3 separate regions of the Homo sapiens genome follow, and regions 2 and 3 are each linked to region 1. The links are contacts of gene promoters, found by promoter capture Hi-C in blood cells and fetal thymus (Javierre and others, 2016). All regions are on one chromosome and are shown on one strand. Each heading gives the region's core, a stretch centred on a gene start or on the middle of the fragment in contact. The rest is flanking DNA. Distances are from core to core; before and after follow the strand shown. Region 1 holds the start of COL9A2 (collagen type IX alpha 2 chain). Region 2 has its middle 25 kb from the start of PPT1. Region 3 holds the start of ZFP69B (ZFP69 zinc finger protein B).

Region 1 (3,390 bases), core at 316-2,815:
AAATCCAGAGCCCTTTGCTAACCTGCCCAATGGAGTTGGACTTTTCTAGCTTCAACTAGGTTCATCATTTTAGCTGATCTGCCTGTGGCCAGCTTCCCCACATTGGATGCCAACCTAGTAAAACAGTCATCCATAAATCATAAGGAAAGCTAAAATGTATCAAGCACCTACTATGTGCTGGTTCGAGGTTAAATGCCTCGCATGAGTCATCTCATTCAATTTCCACAAAAACCCTTTAAGATAAGGACAATTTGCTGGGCACGGTGGCTCATGCCTGTAATCCCAACACTTTGGGAGGCTGAGGCAGGCAGATCACCTGAAGTCAGGAGTTCAAGAGCAGTCTGGCCAACATGGCGAAACCCCATCTCTACTAAAAATATAAAAATTAGCCAGGCATTGTGGCTCATGCCTGTAATTCCAGCTACTCGAGAGGCTGAGGCAGGGGAATCATTTGAACCCGCGAGGCGAGGTTGCAGTTAGCTGACATCGTGCCACTGCACTCCAGAGCCTTTTAAGACTCTGTCTTAAAAAAAAAATATATATATATATATATATGGACTATTAGTATCCCCATTTTACAGATGAGGAAAATGAGACTTCATAGAGTTTGGGGTGCCTGTGGTCATATCTATAATTGTGAAAAAGTCAGATTCCAAAGCATTTTACCAATATTGCCTAAGTGAGTGGGAGGGAAGGGAAGGCTCTCTGGAGTCGGGCTATGCTGGACAGCGGGGTTCGGAAACTCTGGTGAATAAAGTGGTAGTTGTTTCTATGAACATGGAGTGAGAAGGCCCAATCCTAAACACACCAGTGCTTAAGGCAGCTGCAGAGAATTAAAGGCAATAGAAAAAGGGGAGCTGGATGGCAGGAGCTTGGATGGGGAAGACTTCAAGGGCAGGTGAAGATGCCAACAGCTTCCTGCCTGGAGGACCGAAGAAGGGTTGGGCTTCACTGCAGACCTCCAGGAGACAGATTTGCTTGTTGGGACAGAGTAGGGAGGTGAAAGCGAGGTGAGGAAGTTCGGGGGTGGGGGAGGTGCACACAGCTCCACTAAAGAGCTGGAAGAGGCCGATGGAGTATTCATGAGACGGCTGATCCAGGAAGGACTGTGGCATATTAATATGGAAAAGGCCTGTTTGTTTGTGCTTGGAGAGGAAGGAGCCAGAGGAGAGGGGAGCAAGGTGGGCGGGAGCTGGGGAGAGCCTGCAGCAAGATCTGCAGAGCCCGAGGTGCTCTCGGCCTGGGCCCTGGAGAGGACGTAGGGTAAGTGATGGGGCACAGGCTGTGCGTCAGGGGGAAGGTGCTGGGGCCTGAAGGTCCCGAGGGGAACCTCAGACGGCCTTATGCCTTCTCACAAAGAAACTGGACCATCATCTCCGACCCGCACCCCGGTCGCCCCTCGAGGACAGAGGGTGGGCGCAGGAGGCTGGACCGAGCGGGGCGGAGCTGGATGCCTGGCGCCGGCCTCCCTCCCGGCAACCCCGCCGGTCCTCTCAGGTGACAGCTCACGCCGGCCCCCGCCCCGCCCCCCGCATATTCAGGAGCCCCAGCCCACCCTGCCCGCGAACAGCCAGCGCTGGAGGAGCGCCGGGAGACTCTGCCGTCGGTGCGTGCGCGGACACGCACCCGTCCCCCTTGGTCTCGCCGCCAGCCATGGCCGCCGCTACGGCCTCCCCCCGCAGCCTCCTTGTTCTCCTCCAGGTGGTAGTGCTCGCTCTGGCGCAGATTGTAAGTTTCGCAGCCCCTCCGCTGCCAGGGTCCAGGGTGCGGGGTCTGGAGTCCGGGATGGAGGAGCTCTGCCTGTGTCCCGCGCCTACTGACACCCCTAGCCCGAGAGGCCACCTGAGGACAGCGCCGCGGGCAGGTCCCCTCGGTGGGTGCATACATGGTGCCCATCGCGGCACCGTGAATGGAGGTGGCTGAGCCGGAGAGTCAAACGGGACCCGTCCCCAGACGCGCGGCCCGGCCCGGGACAGGCAGCGTGGGGCAGGAGCTGGCGCCCGGTCCTGGCAGCCCGGGGAGCCCAGGTGGCGGGGCATACAATGGTGCTCATTCACCCGCTGCGCAGCCTCCGCCCCCGCCGCCTCCCAGGGGGCGCCGGCTCCAACCAGACGCCGCTGTCGCCCCGAGGCGGCCTCTCGGCCCTGCCCGCCTACCCACGTCTCCCTTCCGAGGGCCGCCGGGGGCTGCGGGCGCGCGGGTAGGGCAGAGACTGGGCCCGGTCGGGTGCTGGGTGTGGTTTCGAGCTCGCCTGCGGGGCGCCAGCCTGGCACTTCGCGGCCTGGGGAGGTCGTGGGCACCGGGACCCCTGCCTGGGTCCGAGCTGGCCTCTTAAAAGGGCCGCCTTTTAAGATCTCTGATCTGTTCAGAGATGGGCAGCAGGATGGAGACTCTCCAGCTGTGAGCTCGCCTCATCTTGATATGACTTGTGACCTCCCTGAAACCTCACACCCACCCAGGGGCATTGAATTGCAGGCAAACGGGATCCAGAGAGAGGGTCTGCTTTCTGGGAGGTGCCGGCTCCTCCTGCTCCCCTGCAGCAGTCAGGGCTTAGCAGAGGGAGGACCGGGCAGCTGTGCTGCCGAAGGGGCGCTCCGAGTGGGAAGATAGTACCCGCTTCACCTCCCTACACCTCCTTTCTCTGCGCCTCCCCCACTTTCCCGTCGGGTTTTCCCGCACCATGGGGAGAGGAGGAGGCGCTGTCTCTGCCTGTCGTTCACGTAAGAACAACAACCCGAGCCACCGCTCACTGAGGGCCGGCAGCCTGCTAGGCACAACCTTACATTCCATCTGTGATTTATTTGAGCTGTCCACGTCTCCATCTATTCCCCACCGCGACCGCGCAAGGGCAAACTGGCACAGTGGAAGGAGTCGGGCAGATCCAGGGCGGACTCCTGGCGCCGCCGCCCACTCTCAGTGACCATGGACCCTTCACGTTCTGAGCCAGTTTCTTCGACTGCAAACTGGGGCCCGTAATAGCGCCCGCCTCCCGGTTCTGAGTATTCTGTAAGATAATGAATGCATGTAATGGCACACAGTGCCTGCTATACAGAAGATTCTCAATACGTGGGAGTTCGCGGAAGAGCTGCGCCCCTAGGACCCCGCTCCCAGGGTCGCTTGCAGCCCCGGGGACGCCCAGCTTCCTGCACTGTCTGAGGACTGCCCCACCCCGTGTGTGTTTTTCAGAGAGGTCCACCGGGAGAGCGGGGCCCCCCGGGTCCCCCGGGACCGCCGGGAGTGCCTGGATCCGACGGCATCGACGTAAGTCTCTAACCTGAGACCAGGGCGGGAGGGAGGCGGCAGACAAAGGAGAACTTTGTGAGCGCTGTGGTGGGGGTGGGGACTTCGGGGTGCCCGGAGATGTAGTGCCCCTCGTCGCCAATAGGCGGC
Region 2 (3,390 bases), core at 585-3,084, 200 kb after region 1:
GATGGAGGTGCCTGGAAGTGCTGCTAGTGGCCACTCCTGAACCACAGACTATCCTGGGTTAACATCTTCAGTTGTATATTCAGAAGGAAAAAGCCAAGGACCCATCTGTGGTCTCAGGGTATCATCTGAACAAGCAATATACACCCAGCGAAGAACACTCTGTCCCCTTAGAGAGTTTCCAGTCCTTTCCCACATAAACAGACTAACACCTGCACTCCTTGCCTCATCTTCAGGGCACGTCTGTCACAAACAGAACTTTCAGAAATCCTTTATGAAGGTATAGACTTCAAACTCCTGTGAGTTTGGTTATTATGAGTCTACTCTTTGAGCCTAATCCTCTTTGGGCACACTGACAGAGCTCAGACCCTGGGCTAGGAAGTCCCTGTTTGGCCAGCTTGTCAGCCTCTTTTGCTGTCATCCCTAGTTCACTTAAATGGAACTGCAAGAGTTACAACATTCTGTATATTTCAATTAACATTACTGTACTAGGGAAAGTAGTGATGCTTTCTTTCCAGTTGGAGATTTATTGTCTCTAAATTGGGGGTCTTCTCAATCCAAGTTTGCCCTGTGAACATGTTGTGAAATTGTCATCTGAAGCAGGCCCCTCAAAGATGGTTGAGAAGCCTTGCATTTTCCTGAAGAGCAGAGGACACTGTTTATCTTGGCAGAATTCCAAGCCCAATCAGTAGATATGAAAAGCAAGAAGAAAGGAGCATGTGTTCAAAGTTTTTCTTATCAAGTCTTTAGAGTGCAGGCCCTGGGAAAAATGCTGCAGGTACATTAGGATGGAAAGACTATGTTGGGAGAAGGCCCTTGGCTAATGAGAACATAGGTCTGGTAGAATATTGAGGAGCCCTTTAAGGAGAAAACAATTAGCTTTTTCAAAGCTTTCCTTTTAGAGACCAACTCACTATTATTAGTAAATTAAGACATACTAAGAAATAGATTATTCAAGAAAAAGGACTTCAGCCACAGAAGTAAAATGGGCAGAGTTAGAGCAAGAGGGAGCAAATATTCAATAGGAAGCAAAGAGTAAACAATACATGCATTCGTTGCTAGTAATAAGGTAAAAAATGCAAGAGAAAGCACATTAAGGGTTCTATTTGACCTTTCTCAAATAAAGAAAACTGTATTTAAAATAGTAGCCCCCATTTCTGATGAGATTGTGATAAAATTGAGGTGAGGATAGGAATGAAAATAGGAATACCATTTGGGAAAACAAAATAGCCATAATTAGCAAAAGGCTTTTATTGAGTGTATAGTTCAATGACTTTTAATATATTTGCAGAGTTGTACAACCATTACCACAATCTAGAAACAGTCTTGAAAATATTAATATCCTTGAAATTACTCCTGGATCAAGAATTAATAATAACAGCAGTTGTTATTCTGTATAGAGTACTAACTCAGAACCAAGCACTTTACATGTAATTTATTCATTTCAATTCTCACAACAATCCTATGAGGAAGGTGTTATTAGTGACCCTTCTTGATAAATGAAATACTGAGATATAGAGAAGTTAAGAAATTTGCCCAAACTACCATGGATAGTGTTAAAAACCAGATCATCTCTTTCCAGAACCTATACACATAAGCAACTACTACACTATAAGGAAATAATACAACAAAAGTAAAAAGCTCCATGCAGGAAGAGTTAATTACAGAATTCTGTAAGATCCAATAATGGGCATAAGTTAAATGGTCTACAATCCACAAAGAATAGGTTTAGTAGATTTTGGTGTGTCTGCTACTCAGCCATAAAAAGGAAAATAGTAGACCCTGTACAAATAAGGAAAATATTTATGATATTCAATAGCACAGTATAGTAGTTGTTGGATGAATGAATAAGCCAGCATAGCCCCTGCCTTCTTCAATATCAGTCCTTCACAAATGATCTTCAATTGCTATATACCCAGGGCCAAACCCAGTGTCTTCAATGCACGGGGCTCTCCAAGTGGCTGTGGGGTGGTAAGATCTCTTCACTGGGTGAGCCACAGGAAATGACTCCAATAGTCAGGTTCCTTCTGAGCTAAGACCTGGCTGGGCATTGGAGATGTTCTCCAAGGACAAAGGTATTTGTTTTTGTTTTTGTTTTTGTTTTTTGAGATGGAGTCTGTGTCGCACAGGCTAGAATGCAATGGCGCAATCTTGGCTCACTGCAACCTCAACCTCCTGAGTTCAAGCAATTCTCCTGCCTCAGAGTAGCTGAGATTACAGGCACGCGCCACCACGCCTGGCTAATTTTTGTATTTTTAGTAGAGACAGAGTTTCACCATGTTGGCCAGGCTGGTCTCAAACTCCTGACCTCAAATGATCCGCCTGCCTTGGCCTCCCAAAGTGCTGGGATTACAGGCATGAGCCACCGTGCCCAGCCCCCAAGGACAAAGTTTTGATGGTGTCCTCTGTGTCTGCAAAATATTGAAAAGACACCTGCATGTGAACAAAATCTGGAAGACAGTATGCAAAAAATTAAAACAGTTGCAATGTTTGCTGGAAGAATTGTAGGAGGTTACTTACTTTTAAAATTTTTTCTGCAATGTTGTTACACTATCTTTTTCAGCAATGTTTTGAAGAAAAGGGATCTCCTTGATCTTCATCTTGATGTTCCTAAGACAAAAGCCAAATCAATGAATGACTCATTGCTGGCCACATCTGACCCAAATGTTAGACACTGACAAGACTCCATCCTCCAAAGAATATCTTGGTTAGAAGTATTTAATTGTTCTAGGTTCTGGAGATATGGCAAAGCATAAGATTGAATCCCTGCTCTCTCAAAGCTTACATACTAGAACTGTGTTGTCCAGTACAGTAGCCACTGGCCACATGTGGCTATCTAAATTTAAATCAGTTAAAATTAAATTAAATTAAATTAAAAATTCTTTTACTCATTCACACTAGCCACATGTCAAGTGCATAGGAGTCATATGGTAACTAGTGGCTACTATATTGGACAGCTCAAATATAACAATACTTCCATCATTGCAGAAAATTCTACTGGTTAGTCCTCCTTTAGACAGAAGAGTTTGATAATAATCAAGTAAACAAAAATGGACAAGAGTAAACATTGCTCTGAAGAAAATAAAAAACAGTGCTGCCTTGTATTGTAGACTGATGGTCTTGGGAAGGCATCTCCGAGGGACTCCCATTTGAGCTGAAAAACTAATGACAAGAATGAGCCAGTCATGCAAAGATTTGGGTACAGAATGTCTCAGGAAGAAGGTGAGGCAACTGTAAATGCCATTGAGGTAGGATGTGAAACTCATCTCCAGAGGCAGGGCTTGAACCTCGGACCAGATAGAGAAATAGCTAAAACAGGGAAAAGTCCAAAGCACCTCTCTGTAAGACACTCCCACTAGTGTGCCATGTCAGTTTACCATTTCCATGGCAACG
Region 3 (3,390 bases), core at 644-3,143, 130 kb before region 1:
TACAGTATCTGCAAAGTATAAAATGCCCGGCTATCCCATTACTGAGACATTTGATTAAAACTGTGACCACCACACCTCACTATTGGAAAATTATGTTCATTCCTTGCCATTTAGTAAGTAATTTGAGGGGATAATACTTTGATATCATGTGAGTATCTGTTCCCCATTAACCTTTCAATTATTTTATTTACGGTAAAAGATTCTATCATTCTTTCTACATTTATTTATTTATTTATTTATTTTTGAGACAAGGTCTTGCTCTGTCACCCAGCCTGGAGTGCAGTGGCGCCATCTCAGCTCACTGAAACCTCCCCTTTCCTAGTTCAAGCGATTCTCGTGCCTCAACCTCCCGAGTAGCTGGGATTACAGGCATGTGCCACCACGCCCAGCTAATTTTTGTATTTTTAGCAGAGATGGGGTTTCATCATGTTGGCCAGGCTGGTCTCAAACTGCTGACCTCAAACTCCTGGTCTCAAGCAATCCGCCCACCTTGGCTTCCCAAATTGCTGGGATTACAGGCATGAGCCACCACACCTGGCCTCTTTCTACCTTCATTATTGGCACGCATTTTCTGTAAAAAGCTTTCCCTCACCAACTGAAGAGGATCTAAAAGGCAAGGTAAATGCACATTCATTCCCATAATAACCTATTTTTCAAAGTAAGGAATCAGTGTATTAATTACCTCCAATGTTTGCAAATGAATTCCCCCCCCCCCACGTCTTTCTCTATTTTAAGTGTCAAGGTGATCATGTGGAATTTTACTTATTCAAGGTGTTACCATCAGTTTGGATACTTAAGCTTTCCCAAATCTGTCGAGTGAGAGACCCTTAAACCTGGCCTCTTTTGACACATATCCATAGTCTTTAAGCTCTTCCTTGCTTTCTAGCACAAGTTACTCCAGGCTCACCTGGTACTTCCCCTGCTGCTTCTCTTTCTGACCTAGCCACCAAGTTCCTGTGTGACCCTGGGCAGGCCTCCCATTTGATTTACATTTCCCCACTGTTAGAATAAGAAAAATCAGGTTAAGTCCATCCTGCCCCACATGGCCATGGGAAAGATGAAAATAAATAATATACATAACCATGACACTGAAATACTGGTCCTAGGCTGAAAAGACCACCACTACTTAGGAAAACCCCAGACTAGGAGCCACAATCAACAACTCCGGAAACCCTCCACCCACTCGTCTCCCTAAGAGATGCTTCCACTCAAGTGACTCATTCCTTCTCACACTAGAGGGGACTGCTTTTCCTCCCTCCCACCCATCAGTTTATTCTTACCTTCTGCTTTAAACATCTTAGTCACATCCTCCCACAGGGCCACCCGCTCCGTGGCCGCCTTTGGATGACGCAACTTCACCCAGGTGCTGGCCTCGGTGGGCAGGGTGATCAGGAGCTGCTGCAGCATGACGGCGTCCGCACTCCTTTCTGAGGACCCTCTGTCTTAGCCCATAGGGCTTGTCCACCTCTGATGAGGAAATTGCTGGAAGCTCTGACAGGAGGCTTCCCAATTGTACCGATCTCCTTAATCGCCGACTCCTACTCCTCAATGTCCTCTCTCAGGAACCCAGGGAACATACAGTATCAAAATCCGAGATCTGGACTTGTGTCTATCATCGGCTCTCAGGGCGTATCTCCCAACTTGAGCTCCATCTGTCTCCTTGGCCAGCAGCTGGAGGCGCCAAGTATTTACTCTCAGCAGCCCCTGCAGATGCTGAGCAGAAGACATTAGAATCAGCAAAGGACTAAGGAGGCTCAGTCATAGGGCAGAACGCTAGAACATATATGGATCACTGTAAAATGTTTCCAAAAGATACACGGAGACGGTGGGCAGACACAGCCCACAAAATTCAAAGCACCGCGCACATGTCAGGAAGCACAAAGAGACGAATACAACCCAATTCTTTGTTTGGGGCAGTAATTATGTGTAAAGTAGCCGGGGATTTGGAATCCCAGCTCTTTCACTAGTCGGCTGTAGCAAACCGCGAAACCGCTAGACCCCGCCTCCTCCTCCCCAAATGAGAGGCTAAGTCCTCCCCACAAAGCAAAACGCCCCCGGCCCTAGCCTCCCAGCCTTTGTCTGAGCACGACTCCGGGGCTGCGGAGAGCACCGCGCGCGACAGGGTGGCCGCGGGCGGAACTCGCGCTTCCCGGCTCGCCCAGCTCCCCAAGCCCGGGACAGCCACCCGCTCACCCTCTCCCCGCTGGGCCGGCACGCCCCCGCCTTCCCACCGCTGCAGCCGGGTTCCGGCACTGCGCGGCCAAGCTCCCACGTAGCGCTGCGGCGGGCAGTCGGGGCCCAGTGCGCCTGCGCAGCGGCTGGCTAGAGCATGGTTCCCAGCGTCCTCCCGGGGAGCCGCTCCGCCAGCGCAGACGCCCCCACCGGTGCGCGCCGGGTTGGCTGCGTTCAGGGGCTCCCAGTATCCGATCCCTGCGAGCATCATCAGCCTGGCTCCTGCGGGAGGAGATGGAGCCTGCGTTCTTGGGCCCCAGACTCTGATGAAGAACAACCATCTTTCCTCCGCTGGGAAAATGCACGTGAACGTTAGGGTGAGCCTTTGAAACCCGTGACAAAAGGGAGCCATCGGCATCACGTTTTTTGGTGAAACGACACTGGTGTAAAATAATCCATAGCACTTTCCCTAAATATTATGTACATGCCAGTTATTTATTCTCAGCAGACAGTTGAATGGATTCCGGTATATTGTTAAAAGAATACCACAACAGTTTTCTCTTCTAGTATTCAATAAAAGTTCTCATGTTTATTGCTTACCTTGTATTTCTGAAATGCCAGAAAATACACAAAAACAAAAAAATTATTGCCTGTAATTTCAGCAAGCAGCGGTAACCTTGCTAACAGTTGGTGTACAACCTTTCCTGCACACACACAACGTATTTCATGCATTGTTATATATTTTCCACAAAAGCGATTATACTGTAATGCTGTTTTATTGCTGAGTTTTCTCCCTCCAACAAAATTTGAGTACATCACTCCAAATACATTTCTACATCAACAGTTTACAAAAACAACAAATGAGGAAATAGAATACAATTATAGTACTTGCTAGCTGTTATGAACCGAATGTTTGGATTCCCCAAAATTTATCTTGAAGCCCTAACCTCCATTGTATTTGGAGAGTATTTAGAGATAAGGCCTTTATGGAAGTAATTAAGGTTAGAATATAGTCCTAGTCAGAAACGAACCCAACTCGACCTTACTTGGGGCTTCTAGTCTCCACACTGAGAAAATAAATTTCCGGTTTTTTGTTTGTTTGTTTGTTTGTTTTTTTGAGATGGAGTCTCGCACTGTCCGCAGGGCTGGACTGCAGTGGCGTGACCTCGGTTCACTGCAACCTTCGCCTCCTGGCTTAAAGCGATTCTCCTGCCTCAG

What was found. The method cuts DNA at HindIII sites, captures the fragments that hold promoters and counts their contacts. A CHiCAGO score of 5 or more calls a contact.
Region 2: a fragment that was not itself captured here is called in contact with the fragment with the promoter of COL9A2 in region 1 in 2 of 17 cell types (total B cells and erythroblasts); the score reaches 6.3 in total B cells.
Region 3: the fragment with the promoter of ZFP69B here is called in contact with the fragment with the promoter of COL9A2 in region 1 in 1 of 17 cell types (neutrophils); the score reaches 6.1 in neutrophils.

What each region holds. Positions count from the first base shown.
Region 1 is chr1:40,315,461-40,318,850 of GRCh38, reverse strand. COL9A2 (collagen type IX alpha 2 chain) reads left to right here and starts at 1,565. Exons shown (of 32, transcript NM_001852.4): 1 at 1,565-1,728; 2 at 3,187-3,261. The coding sequence starts at 1,654. RefSeq lists enhancers at 1,434-2,070, 2,071-2,707 and silencers at 1,881-2,390, 3,151-3,250, 3,261-3,320. The HindIII fragment of the contact is 22,313 bases long and covers 1-3,390 here.
Region 2 is chr1:40,120,323-40,123,712 of GRCh38, reverse strand. No RefSeq gene overlaps it. Among named protein-coding and RNA genes, the nearest start is that of PPT1, 25 kb to the right of the region's middle. The HindIII fragment of the contact is 1,890 bases long and covers 890-2,779 here.
Region 3 is chr1:40,448,979-40,452,368 of GRCh38, reverse strand. It overlaps ZFP69B (ZFP69 zinc finger protein B), which reads right to left and starts at 1,893. Exons shown (of 5, transcript NM_023070.3): 1 at 1,281-1,893. The coding sequence starts at 1,407. It overlaps ZFP69B-DT (ZFP69B divergent transcript), which reads left to right and starts at 2,330. Exons shown (of 5, transcript NR_198977.1): 1 at 2,330-2,549. RefSeq lists an enhancer at 600-1,799 and a silencer at 2,015-2,274. The HindIII fragment of the contact is 15,908 bases long and covers 801-3,390 here.